2 separate regions of the Homo sapiens genome follow, and region 2 is linked to region 1. Evidence: promoter capture Hi-C in 16 types of primary human blood cells and fetal thymus (Javierre and others, 2016). All regions are on one chromosome and are shown on one strand. The core of a region is centred on a gene start or on the middle of the fragment in contact, and the rest is flanking DNA. Distances in the headings are between cores, read along the strand shown.

Region 1 (6,632 bases), core at 1,557-4,056:
GCTGTATCTCTTGGGGTTAAGAGGGGTACATCATTCTTTCTTTTGGCCATTATCAAACTGATAATGATCAAATAGAAAGGTAATTCTACAAACCTGAAGTTAGAATACCGATTTAGAAATACTCTTGGTATTTTAAAATTCTGCAGATTAACTTTGTCTGGGCAGGTTCAAAGCCTCCATGGCATCCTGAGCAGAAGAGTTTTCTGCAGGCAGGGCAGATCTATTAAAAAACATGACCTGTGACAAAAATCAATGTGCTAATCTCAAACCAAACAACAGTATCAAAAGCACAAAACAGAGATAACCTAAGATAAAATGTCCTCAAACTAACTCAGACTAGCTTGACAGGTTAAGAAGGGGGGTTAAAGTAGGGGTGTTGCTGGTTCTTTCCGTTTTAACCCAGGAAGACTGGAACACCCAAGTATCCAAATAAATGAATGCCATGAGAAAAAGATCACAATGTGGAGCTTGGTGTGGGAAAGAAAAGACAACCGAGAGCAAGATATCCCAAATTCAAAGAAACTATTTCAGTGTTGCTTTATTTAATAAGGTGCTAAAGTTCAGAGATACAAATTTCTGCTTCGTATATGCTGCCTAATAAAGCACAAACGGGGAAAAAAAACTAACCAACATAATGAGACTGGCTTTTAACACCATCACAACTGGAAAGCTTGCTCTATTTGTCTTGTCAGCTTTAATAAAAGGCATCTCTCCTCTGGCAGGATGGCTTCTTTTTCTCTTTTCCTAATAGTGGTAAGTGGCATGTCAAAGAAGAAATCGCTTCCCATTCCACCACCCACCTCCAGGAGACTCTTGTTTTTTGAACCAAACTTTCAGGAATATCTCCACTCCTGTTCAGCGGTTCATTTAGGACTTGGGCGGCTACCTGAGTAAGACTATCTTGGACTAGCGGGATAGGGGGAACTCCCTCCTGGTTCTGTAACCGGCGGACTGCTTGTGGGGAAATCTTCCCATCTTCATCTGCGCTGACATTATTCAAGCAGGGAATCCCTCTCTTGCCTGCATGCTGAGGGGAGGCTGGAGGCAGGCGGAGAGGGCCCGCAGGAGATAGAAAAAACTGGAGGCGCCCACCGATACCCTCTCTCCTGGAGCCCGGGGCGCGCACCAACTCTTAGGCTAACCCCTCGGCCTCCCGCCTCTCTCTTCCCAACTTCCACTCCAGCCCAGTGAAAAACCTGTGACTTTAGATGCAATCGGTACTATTAATAAATAGCACCTAGGAGGGCACCGAGACCGGCACACAGCTGGAAGCTAGCCTCTGTCCCAGAGAAAGCAGTGCGGTATGGGCCTAGCGGGGCCGACTTCTGTGCACAGGCCGGGAAGCAATAAAGGTTCGGAACTGCTCCAGACCCGGAGGACCCCGCCGGGCACTCTGGATAACCTCCCCACTCCACTTCCAGGGTCCGAAAACACGGGACGTCTGCGACTGGCCGGTGTCCAGCACGCGCACTAGGACCGCCCCCGGCGCCCACCTCTAGTCTCCCGCATACCCGGCGGGCTTCGGGACGCCTACAAATCGGTTCCAGGTAATCGCGCGCGTTCCTCCGGCAGCACATCGCCAGGCCGCGGGCGAAGGGCTCCCACCTCCTGGCTCGGCCAACTCTGGCAGCTTGTTCTGCACACATGACGTAACCCGGCATTAGATCAAACTTTCTGGCACCTTGAACCCACTGGGGTGGGTGGAGGGATGGAGAAGATGGGAGAATCCTCTCCACTGCCAGGCGCGCCGGGCCCAGACTGACTCAGGGGCCGAATGATTTCCTCGCAGTTGAAGAGGAAAATAAAAACCTAAAGCTTCCGCTTCCCAGCCCCCCTCACTTCCCCCAGCCCGTGCGCTCTCTCTGCGCGCACCGGGAAAAGAGAAGGGAAAATTAAAATTAAAAAAAAAAAAAAAAAAAAAAAAACTTTGGGGGATGTTTGGCGGGTTCTCTCCGCAGTCCCTGCGGACCCACGCTCCAGGAAGGAGCTCCCGGCTGCGCACACTGGGGGCTCCCCGCGCCGGGAACCGGATGCCAGCCAGATGCCGGGGCTGGGAAGCAGAGAAGTCCCTACTCCCCGGCTCCCGCCCTTTTCCGAGTCTCCCGGCGCCCCGCAGAAGCAGTTGGTCTAGGCAGCCCCGGGGACTCCCAGGGGTACCTGGCCTTTCCGCGGCGGCTTAACAAAGAGGGGCGCGACGCGAGCGCTTCCCGCCGACGCCTCAAGCCATCAGCGCCCGGGCGACGCAGGCTCCGAGGGTGCGCGCCGCCAGCGGTTGGTGCGCGCCGATCCCCGCCGCCGCTCCTTCCGCAGGGCCCCGAGGCCCGGGTAGCCCTGGCTCTCCGCCTGTTATCGGCTTACCTGGGGTTGCTGCTGTTCCAGTAGACAGCGTAGCGGTCGGCGACGGCCTTGGAGCCCGGGTCCTGGCTGAACACACACATCCAGAGCACCAGAAACACCAGCGTCAACATCTCCACGTGCAACATCACGCCTGGCCAGCGGCGGAGCCCCCGACGCGCCACTCCGGGGAGAGAGCGGGGATCCGGAGGGAGGGAGGCAGGCAAAGGGACAGAGAGAGAGCGGGCGCCAAATAAATATGAATAAATAAAAATGAAAGTGGGCGAGAAAGGAAAGAGGCGCCCACCAAGCTGGGGAGGGGTAGGAGAGCGAGAAGAAAAGAAGGCGGTGGGATGGGGGGTGATAAAGACAAACTCGCACCCCCACTGGAGGGTTCAGGAGGAAAAAGGAATCACAAGATGGAGAGAAGCGTGCGTGTGTGTGGTGGCGGCGGCGAGGGCGGGGGAAGAGGTGCCAAGCTGTGTCTCGGGCGGCGGCGGCAGGCCGGTCACCCCGGGAGAGGGAGGTGCGCGCCGGGCCGGGCGGCTGCAGCGCGGGTCGGGGCAGGCGGCGGCGCGCGCTGCACAGTCACCGGGAGTTGCGCGCCGCAGCCGCGGGGAGACATACACCGGCCCGCCGGGCCCGGCTCAGCGTCGGCGCAGCAGGCTACGCACGGCTCCGCCACCGCCCGGGGCCCTCGCACTGCGCCACGCTTCGCTCCAAGTTACTTTGGCGGCCGGTGGGAAACTGCAGGAGAAGGGCGACGTGCTGATAGAGGGCTTCGCGCTTGTGGTCCCGGGAGTCTGAGAACCCCTTTCCTCAGCCTCCTCTGTGCCTTAGCGGGGCGACCCCCAGAAATCTCAGAGGAGTCGTAAGTGCTGCGGTACCGGGCGGTGCGCCGAGAAGGGTGGGGATCCGGAGCCGCAACCCAGCCTTGTCGGTGTCCTGGAACTGGTTAAGCGGCAGCTGCGCCGGCTTTCGAAGCGGTCTTGCCTCGAAAACCTCAAAGAAAAGTTTGGCTCTTCGCGTCTTCCGGCAGGTCCCCCAGCAGAGTCGGAACGCGGCGGTAGCGGAAGAGGGCACCCCGGGGGCTGGCCGAGCCTCGGGGATTTCTCGCGCGTGCTTTCCTTGGCTGGGTGTGGGTGCACCACAGTGAATGAAGAGCAGAGGTTAAGACCAGCCGGCCTGGCAGAGCTGGGATTCCTAAACCTGCAAGACGACGCCAACCCAACTGTTCGGCTGGAGAGCGGGAGGGGAAACAATCACTTTCAAATGGATCCCTCCAACTCCTGGATGGGCCGATGTCAGTCTCCGATCGCCTTCCGAGAGGGAGACTGAGCCCCCACACGCGGTGCCAAGAGCCCGGGGTGAGCTCTCAGAAGTGTCCCTGCGACTCCAGCGGGTCCAAGCCTAGCAACTTGTAGAGATGCATCAATCAGTTTGAAATGGGAAAAGAGGAAAAAAAAAAAGCGCACGAGCGAGTGGCACCTCCCCGATGACTACATCAGAAAACCTTCCCGATCCTCCCGCAGCTGCTCCTCTTTCCCTCCTTAGGCACAGCAGCAACAGAGGTGAAAACCACAAACCGAATCCTAAAACCCCTACCCAGGCGGGAAAATAAATAAACTTGAGTGCAGCAGCAGCAGCACGAGCAGCCCAGGAGGAATTGAAACGACTGGCAAGAAGTGGAAAGGGTTTTGTAAAAGTCAGTTTTGCAAAAGAGGGGGAAAAAAAGAGAGCGAGAGAAAAAATGCTTTATGGGAAAAAAAATCTCCTCGGGCACGCCCCCTCGTTAATGACTTGCGTGGAAAGCCGACAGCGGCGGCGACCCAGTGGCAGCAGCCTCAGCAGAGCGCGAGGCCGCACGCGTGAACGTGGACGTGGGCGGGGGGATGGGGCTCCGCCCGGGCGTGTTGCGCGGGACGCGGGACGGGCGGGCGGCGCGAGCGCGGGTGTGAGCTCCGGACGAAGCAGGGGGAGGTGCCGCCAGCCCGCGCCCAGCCAGCGCTGCTGCCGCTGCGGCCCGGGTCATGTGGACTGTCTTTTTTTTTTTTTTTTTTTTTTTCCTCCTTCCAAGCAGTTTACTTGGGAAGGGTGGGAGCGCGGTGGGGGGATAGCTGGAGCAACCAGTCAGGGAACGGCCTACTGTTTGCTTACAGATTGGGGGTTTTTCCTCTCTCTTTACTCCAACCGGATTGGTTTGCTCCACGAGAAAGAGGCGTTTTCCTAATCTCCCTTCCCCACGCCTCCTACCCCCTCCCCCGCCCCACCTTCTAGAAACCTGACTAATTGAATTACTGGGAGTGCCGAGGCGCCCTCTCCTGCGCCGGAGCCCGGCAGCCACGTGTAACCCTTTGGGTGCTGAATTCCGTCTGGGCTAAGGAATGATTTGACATCTTTTTACCTGGGAGTAGGGTCTTTCGATTTTAAAGGAACCTGTGCCCACCCTTTGGCTGGAGAGCCGGCATCTGTCTCTGGTGCCCCGCAGGTGACGGATGGGCTGGAACGGAGCCTCAGGGAGTGCGCGTTCCTGTCCATTCCACCCGCTCTCCACGCCGCACGCTGCCTGGCGCTGGGTTATCTGGAAGTCTGAGCACCCCTCCTGTGCCTTTCAGCCCTCCTCTTCCCACTTGGGATTTAAAGATTCTTGGGCAGGAAGCAAGTTTTCTTTAAAGTGATGCTCTGAAAACACGTTTTTAAAAATCAGGCAAATCACAGTTTAAAGTGATTACAATTCAGCGCGAACCTTCCACAGAGAGGAAATGAATGCGGCAGACGAGCCCTTCAGAAATAACCTCACACCTCTTCCATTTCAACCTTGAGGGTGATTTGCTGCCCACTCCCCAAAGAATAAACGCCTTTATCGAACCCGGTGCGGAAAGAAATGAGGGCCGGGGGCGGGGGCTGTGGGAAGAAAAGCAGTTCCTTTATTGTTGGAAAAGGCCCCTCGGTCCTGGACTTCAAGGGCAGGTTGCAAGCCTGGTCTTCAGCCGCCACTGAAGAGCGATCTCCTGGCAGCGAGACTGTCCCAGCGCCTCGGGACGCGTCCCCACTGTCGTCCAGCGCCCAGGAAGTGAGCCCGACGCCTGCTCTGCGGGGCCACAGGCCCCCGAGACCCGCCCTTAAGGGGTCCGCGGGCTCGGGAGCAGCGGTATTTTTTCTCATGTTCCCTAGGGAGTTTTCTGCCTTAGTGGGAAGGGCAGATCCCCAGGAGAAAAAAGGCAGTTTACTTTTGCTCCCACACCTGCCTGCACTCCTTTTTACTTATTAGCCCAATAAAATCAAATCTCACGTTCACCCTCCTGCGCTTTCCAGTCCTCAGACGGGATTTCCAGGCGCTTCAGAGCTGTTTAGAAGCGTCCAGACGCCCTCCAGTGGTGGGCCTGCAATCCGCACCCAGCAGGGGCATTGCCTGCCGCTCAGGCCGGGTTGAATTTGATGGGAAATCTAGGGCTATGACCAATAAAGACTCGAGAGGAAAAGAAACAGTTCATAGGGGCACGGAGGTACCTGGATGTTATGGGCTCTTGGCTAAAAGTTAAGTCGTTTTTCAATTACAGTAATATTTCCTATCTGAAAAGATCCTGAAATCGTCCTAGGAAAGTAACTTATATTTTGTGACTAGATACAAATTGCAATCTGTACAATAATGGACTTTACCACAAACCAACCATCTGCCTAATTATTAAAAATTGAAATTCAGAATGTCGACACAAATGCTCCTCCATCATCTGTATGTTTCACAAAGTTCCAGCAGTGAGAAAGAAGTGGGGAAAGAAGTGAGAGAACCAATGGATAAGCTTTTATTTTTCAAATCAAATTTTCAGTTAAAATGTTATTTGCTTTTTTCCCTGGTCTGTAATCTTGCTGATGTTCAAGTTCTTGGCCCATTTTAGGGTGTGTGTTTTTTCTGTTGCAGGAAAGATGGATTTGTTTCCTTAGCTTTTCTTATAGTGGCTCTAATAGGTGCTCATATGACAGAGACAGTTTTGCAGGAAATATTCTGGACCCTTTTAAGAGATATGTGTATCTTTAAAAAGAAAATTCACGACTCCTGTCTAGGGTAAAATGCTGATCCTCACTGAAGAGTCTTTTTAGTCAGGGAACTATCAGGTAACAGGGAGCTAGCAAGCTGGCTTCCTGTGGCATCAAAGCTGAAAAAAAGGTGAAGAAAAAGAAATGGTATCCACTCATTTCCCGTTTGAAACACATACAATAACCAAATGGGAAAATTCAATTATATCACAAAAATATGGATGTCCTTATATTTAAATATCTCTACTATTTAAAGTTTGAAT
Region 2 (6,632 bases), core at 1,763-4,262, 1.4 Mb before region 1:
TTGGACAATACCTGGCTTTCCTAGGTAGAGGTCCCTGCGGCCTTCCACAGTGTTGTGTCCCTGGGTACCTGAGAGTAGGGAGTTGTGATGACTTTTTACAAGCATGCTGCCTTCAAGCATTTGTTTAACAAAGCACATCCTGCATAGCCCTAAATCCATTAAACCTTGAGTCCACACAGCACATGTTTCTGCGAGCACAGGGTTGGGGGTAGGGTTACAGATTAACAGCATCTCAAGGCAGAAGAATTTTTCTTAGTACAGAACAAAATGAAGTCTCTTATGTCTACTTCTTTATACATAGACACAGTAACAGTCTGATCTCTCTTTTCCCCACATCTTTTTATTTTAATATACAAAAAGAGATGAAATCCTTTTTTGATAATCATCTATTTGTCCTTCCAACAATTTAAAGGAGAATGAGAAGATTATGATTTTGTGGTAGCAGACTATTATCTTAGAAGCCTTAATTTGCATTTTATTCATTTCATTTTTAGCATTATGTCCAAGTCACACAATGTAATTCCTTACTTGCTAATTACTGCCTATATAGGAATTGGTTCAGAGGATCTTTGAACCCTTGGTTTTTTAAAATCTACTTGTCTGTGCCAGGCATATTGCTTTTGTTACTCTTACCTGATACAGAATATTTTCATGGCTGCATACTGTGTTTCTGTGTCCCACATACAAAATAACAAATGACAAAAATTAAGAAAGGAAAGTCTTTTCTATTTAGAGAGCAGCATTCACACAGCCACTAGATTAATGTTAGCTTTGAAGCTGCATGATGAGCAATAGAGGTTTCTTACCAAGATACTCATTAGCATCCCTTTGTGACTTGTAAGAAATAATTTGCACAGTTTTAAATTTAATGTTAACCCAAAGCTTCTTTGTTGACTGATCAATTTCTAACCACAACAAACTCATTTGTTTCCATTTTGATTGATAAGCAAGGTGCAAAAGTGAGTCCATTTCCTTCCTTTCTTCTTCTGTCTCCTCTTACTACATAATTAACTAAAAATAGAATATAATAACCTGATTGGTTTACCTAGCACTTGAATATACGTGTATATCAGATTGTCTTTATAAACAAATCTCAGTTGTCTTGAAATACGAGGATAAGATTGTCTTGCAATGGAAACACAATACAGCAAACTTTGTCAGGCTACTGCTCATAATTATAGGACATTTCTAAGATCATTTATATCTCTTCTCTTCCTCACCATGCCATATTTCTCTGCTTTATTCTTGTGTAAAACAATATAGGCCTATGTGTCTCCAATTTTCTTTTCTTCTCTACCCTGAATTGATTTATCAGTTATTACTTGAATCAGATATGATTGTTTACATGGAAAATCCAAAGGGACAACAAGAATCTCATCAGATAAAATGAGGAAATACAGTGGTAGTTGTTTGGTAGAAACATTACTATGTAAAAATCAGCAGCTTTTAATATATAAATCACATACATTTTACATAGAGAAATTATGCAAAAATACAATAGCAACAACAATTACAGAAACCCAACAAGTGCAGAACACCAGCTTATATTTTGAGATAGTACCCTGGGTTTAGAGGTATCACACATGATGATTTGTGTAGGACAGTCTCGCTTTATGTGTCTTGACACAAAATTCGGATTTTTAAATGTAAAGCAAAGTTTATTCAAATATACAAGAGAAAAACAACGCCATAAAAAAGTGGGCAAAGGACACGAACAGACACCTCACAAAAGAAGACATATATGCAGTCAATAAGCATATAAAATATCTCAATATCATCCATCATGAGAGAAATGCAAATCAAAACCACAATTAGATACCATCTTACACCAGTCAGAATGGCTGTGACTAAAAAGTAAAAAAATAGCAGATGCTAGAGAGGTTGTGGAGAAAAGGGAACATTTAGTCACTGTTCACAGAAGTGCAAATTATTTCAACCACTGGGGAAAGTAGTATGGTGATCTCTTAAAGAGTGAAAAGCAAAACTACCATTTGACCCAGTAATTCCATTACTGGGTATATACCCAGAGGAATATAAATCATTCTACCATAAAGTCACATGCACACAAATGTTCATTGTAGCACTATTCACAATAGCAAAGACATGGAGTCAACCTAAGTGGCCATCAATGACAGATTGGATAAAGAAAATGTGGTACATATATACACGTGTAATACTATGCAGCCATAAAATAGAATGAGATGATGTCCTTTGTAGGAACATGGATGGAACTGGAGGCTATTATCCTTAGCAAACTAATGCAGGAACGGAAAACCAAATACTGCATGTTCTCACTTATATGTGGGAGCTAAATTATGAGAATCTTTGAACACAGAGATGGAAACAATAGACATTAGGGAACATTTGAACGTGGAGGTGGGAGGAAGGAGAGGAGCAGAAAAGATAACTATTTGGTACTGGGCCTAATTCCTCTGTGATGAAGTAATCAGTATGACAAATTCCCATGACATGAGTTTACCTGTGTAACATTTTCATGTGCACCACTGAACCTAAAATAAAAGTTAAAATTAAAAAAAAAACAAAGTTCATTAATAATAGTAAGCATTAAAATAGAGTGGAATAAATTTGGAAGTCCTTGTCTTTTGTTGCTAACATTTGCCATGGTCTAGAAATATATGTTGCACATGTACAGGAAACAGAGTTGTCATTTTAACATGGAGTAAAACCTGAAAGAAGATCCTGGGTAGTCCATGTCACTATTCTGATAGCCAACAGATTCCAGTCCCAGGTGGTGGGGAAAGACTGTGCCACTGCTGCCTCTTCCAGACACTGGAATAAATAACAGTTGTGCTGTGGCATTGTGAGAGATACATGAAGCAGCTAGTTAGTCACTAGTTAGAGTATTTGAGTAAATATGAGTGTTCAAAGGGAAAGTGTTTGAAAGATGTGTGGCAAAACAGAGGCTCAAAATTTCTGTTCAGGAACTTATATGCAAAAGGAACAAAGTAAGTATTGAGACATGTTACAACCCAGATGAACCTACACAACATTTATGTAGCAAAAAAAGCCAGATACAACAGACTATATTGTATAACTCCAATAATAGAAATATTCAAAACAGGCAAATTTATAGAGACATAATGTGGATTACCTGTTTTCTGGGTTTGGGATGGGAATTTAACTGGGAGTGACTGCAAATGGGAAGGCAGTTTGTTTTTCGTATAATGGAAATGTTCCAAAATTAGATCATGGTGGTGATTCCATAAACCTATAAATTTACTGAAACTCATTGAAAAATTTAAAATGAGTGAATTTCATGGTATGCAAATAATACCTCAATAAATCAGCTTAGTCTTATAATGGTTTTTTCATTTATTTTGTGTAATAATTGTACAACTTTTAATGTATTTTACCATCTAGCAACTGTATCTCATTTTGTAATAATTGCTTTCAGCAGCAATCAGCTAAAAAGGTGGGAGATGGGAGTAAGTACATGTTTAATGAAAAGTGAATGAATTTATTTCTCAAGAAAGTTGAAAATGAAAGTGTTACTTGAATCAATTATTTGTCAATATTTACCAACCCCATGGAGGCCATAGTAATGTCACTGAACATGAGAACTGGAATAGACAGATCTGCTGAAGACACATTAGCATCTACTTCAGAAGTTTAGAATTATTTTGAGAATAATATACTTGAAGTAAACATTTTAATACATAAATCTGCAGAGAGAGTTTATATATAGCTTTCTCTAAAGCATGAATTTTCAGTTTCACTATTCTAACAATATTATTTAGTTTAATCTCACATTTTCCTGTTCAGAATTGAAAAGTGAAGCAACAGGTGTTAATGCATTAATTCCTTTAGCAGAAAAAGAACTTTACTAACAATTAAATGATGTCATGTTTTCATCACTGTCAGCAGATGCTACAAACATAAAATAATTTCATTTCAAGATGATTTGATTTTGTTTCTGCCATTCATGGAATCTAAGTAATGCTTTTGGAAGTTCATTCTGTCCAAGGTGAAACATTTAACACCATAATAAATACTGATATAAATTTAGTTAAAAGTTAAACATAAAAATCATAATAAATGCTGATATACATTTAGTTAAAAGCTAAACATATGAATTGTTTCTGCTGTACACATGACTTTAACTAAATCTAAACAAGCCATAATATTCTACCAATCAAAATAAAATTTGAAAATAGTGTTTATATATGTATACCTTATACATATATATAGTGTATAAACATATAAATATAGAGAAAATAGTTTATATATATTTGTTAGTAACCATGTGGTAAAAGAGGTATAAAGTATACGGTTTATATCTAGTTAGAGTAACTGAACTACAAATTTTTGTGACAAAATTGAAGCTGAATAAATATTTCAGTATGACAGCATACACTTCCTTTACTTTCTGTCAGAAATCTAATTTTATAAATGTTTGAGCTTTCGAAGAATGAAGCTGAAATAGATGAAAAGAGAATAAACCTAGGTTGTTGAGAATGGGAAATCAGAGATCTCATTGAGAAGACATTTTGAAAGATTTCTTGGGGACTGGAAGTACACATTGATACATCAAAAACAAGGAACTTATTTTCTGGAAGTCAAAAAGGAAAATACTGGAGCAGAGATGGAATAAGTCTTCCCAAAAAAGACCGCATAAATTGTCAGGCATATATACAAAGATTAGGACCAGCTGGTAATAAAGGAAGAATGTTAACTGGAAGCACTATCTGTGGAAAAGCTACCTCAGCTATCACATTTTCTGCCTTCTGATACATGCAGAGCACTTGGCAACCCAGAATCTATACCCAGATATTAAACTGAGAGCTCTTCTCTAATAGAATTAGCTAATATTCCTGAGCAGACCTGAGTTGTTTAATGTGGCACATTGGGTCCTCTTTTGTATTCGTGTACCCCATATTCAAGAAATACCCATCACGGAGAGACATCTACAAAGAAAGTGCTGCTTCCATATATATTGTAAACAGAGGTAAAGAAAACTGCATTGACTATTATAATAATTAAACTAGGCTTTCATTCTTAACTATGGCTGGAAAAAAAAGAAAGATTTGCCAAATATTTGAGAAAAAAATTAAGCAAAAAGGAGAACAAGGTAAAGAAAACAACTGATCTTGGAGAAATCTATTTTATGGATAAAAGAAATTAAAAAGCTTTGAAAGTAGTATCTTGAACAAGACAAATTAAAAATATTACACTGAAATCAGAAAAGAAGTTTTTAAGAATTAAAAATATAATTTCCCAAATTATACACATACACATACACACACCAATAACACAGACATATAAGGTTCAAAGAAGTTTCCCGAAATACAGAACAAATAAACTAAAAGTCAACTGACATAAAGGAAAGATAAAAGCATAAAGTAGGATGTCTGCTATCAGACTAGAGTACTATAAAGAGACCAGAAAAAAGGGAAGAAGGAAATAATAAAATTAAAATCAAAAGAATTTGTCTCAGAGCTAAAGAAAAGCTAGAGTTTTCAAATTAGAGGATCCAACATGGTACATTCATAATAAGAAATACTTAGCAACAGAAAAGGACAGACTACCAATACAGACACAACATAGATGGATTTCAAATGCATTATGTCAGGCAAAAGAAGATGACATATTGCATGATTCCATTTATGTGTCATTCTGGAACAAGTAAATATATAAGGAGAGAGACACATCAGTGGTCACTAGGCGCTGAGGGAGAGAGAAGGGCATGAATAAAAGAGGGTATGAAAGAAAAGCCAAAACAAATTTCAAGCGATGTCATGGACTCTCCTGCAAACCAGTGTGATTTTGTGGCGATACCCGATCTCGTCTCATAAGTCAGTAATAACCAATAGTTGTCTGTGCTGGAAACTTAGTACCAATCATTAGGGGTCACTCAGTGATTCATTTGTGGCCAAAATGCAACTATGAGCTTGCCAAATAGAATTAAAATGCTGCAGGGTTATTTGTCAAGTGTTGTTTGACATGCAGTGACTGTGTTTTCTGTACAGAAACCATAAACATCAGGTATATTTCAACCAAATAAACTGAGGCCTGAGCCTATCTAACACACATTTATGGTAAAGCATGTAAAAGTAAGACAACCTTTGAACATATGTCATTTGTTCCCCAGGACTTCTTCAAATTATGTATCTATGAAAGTACGATTATAAAAGGTAAATGCCACAAATGTTTCCTGAGCATCATCTCAGTGAAGAAATGCACAACATGATAGGGTTTTAGATTTCTGGTTTTCTGGTCTATTGTGATGTTTGTCAGCTAAAAAGTTTCTTAACAGTTGGGTGCAAATGCTTAGGAAGCCAATGGCTCTATTACAAAACATTGGTACAAAAGAAAGTTGTTTGTCTTTCAAAGAAAATTCAATATTCAGGTTTTTTGCACATTTTAGCTAGCTCATGAGCAAATTGTAGGTAGGTGTTTGACTCATACCAATGAGTGACTAATAATGTAAAAAACAGTATTAAAAATTGAGGGAACTAAGTAACATAGTTAAAAGTAGCTGTAAGCCAGTAGGAAGGAATATCAAAGCCAAAGGAAAGGATACCTAGAACAGAATAATGAAGATTAAAGCATGACAACCACAGGTTTAATCGTCATTATTCTGTTCTTTATTCTGTTCTGTGGTGGAAGCTCCC

What was found. Contacts are between HindIII fragments. The CHiCAGO score rates a contact against its expected background, and 5 or more counts as called.
Region 2: a contact is called between a fragment that was not itself captured here and the fragment with the promoter of EFNA5 in region 1, in 1 of 17 cell types (M1 macrophages). The highest score is 5.0, in M1 macrophages.

The regions. Positions count from the first base shown.
Region 1 is chr5:107,668,131-107,674,762 of GRCh38, forward strand. EFNA5 (ephrin A5) reads right to left here and starts at 2,807. Exons shown (of 5, transcript NM_001962.3): 1 at 2,359-2,807. The coding sequence starts at 2,483. RefSeq lists enhancers at 1,960-2,039, 2,440-2,569, 3,280-3,419, 5,160-5,659, 5,561-5,610 and silencers at 2,200-2,269, 2,840-2,889, 4,250-4,319, 5,691-5,770. The HindIII fragment of the contact is 4,319 bases long and covers 1,814-6,132 here.
Region 2 is chr5:106,259,797-106,266,428 of GRCh38, forward strand. No RefSeq gene overlaps it. Among named protein-coding and RNA genes, the nearest start is that of LINC01950, 750 kb to the right of the region's middle. The HindIII fragment of the contact is 4,265 bases long and covers 881-5,145 here.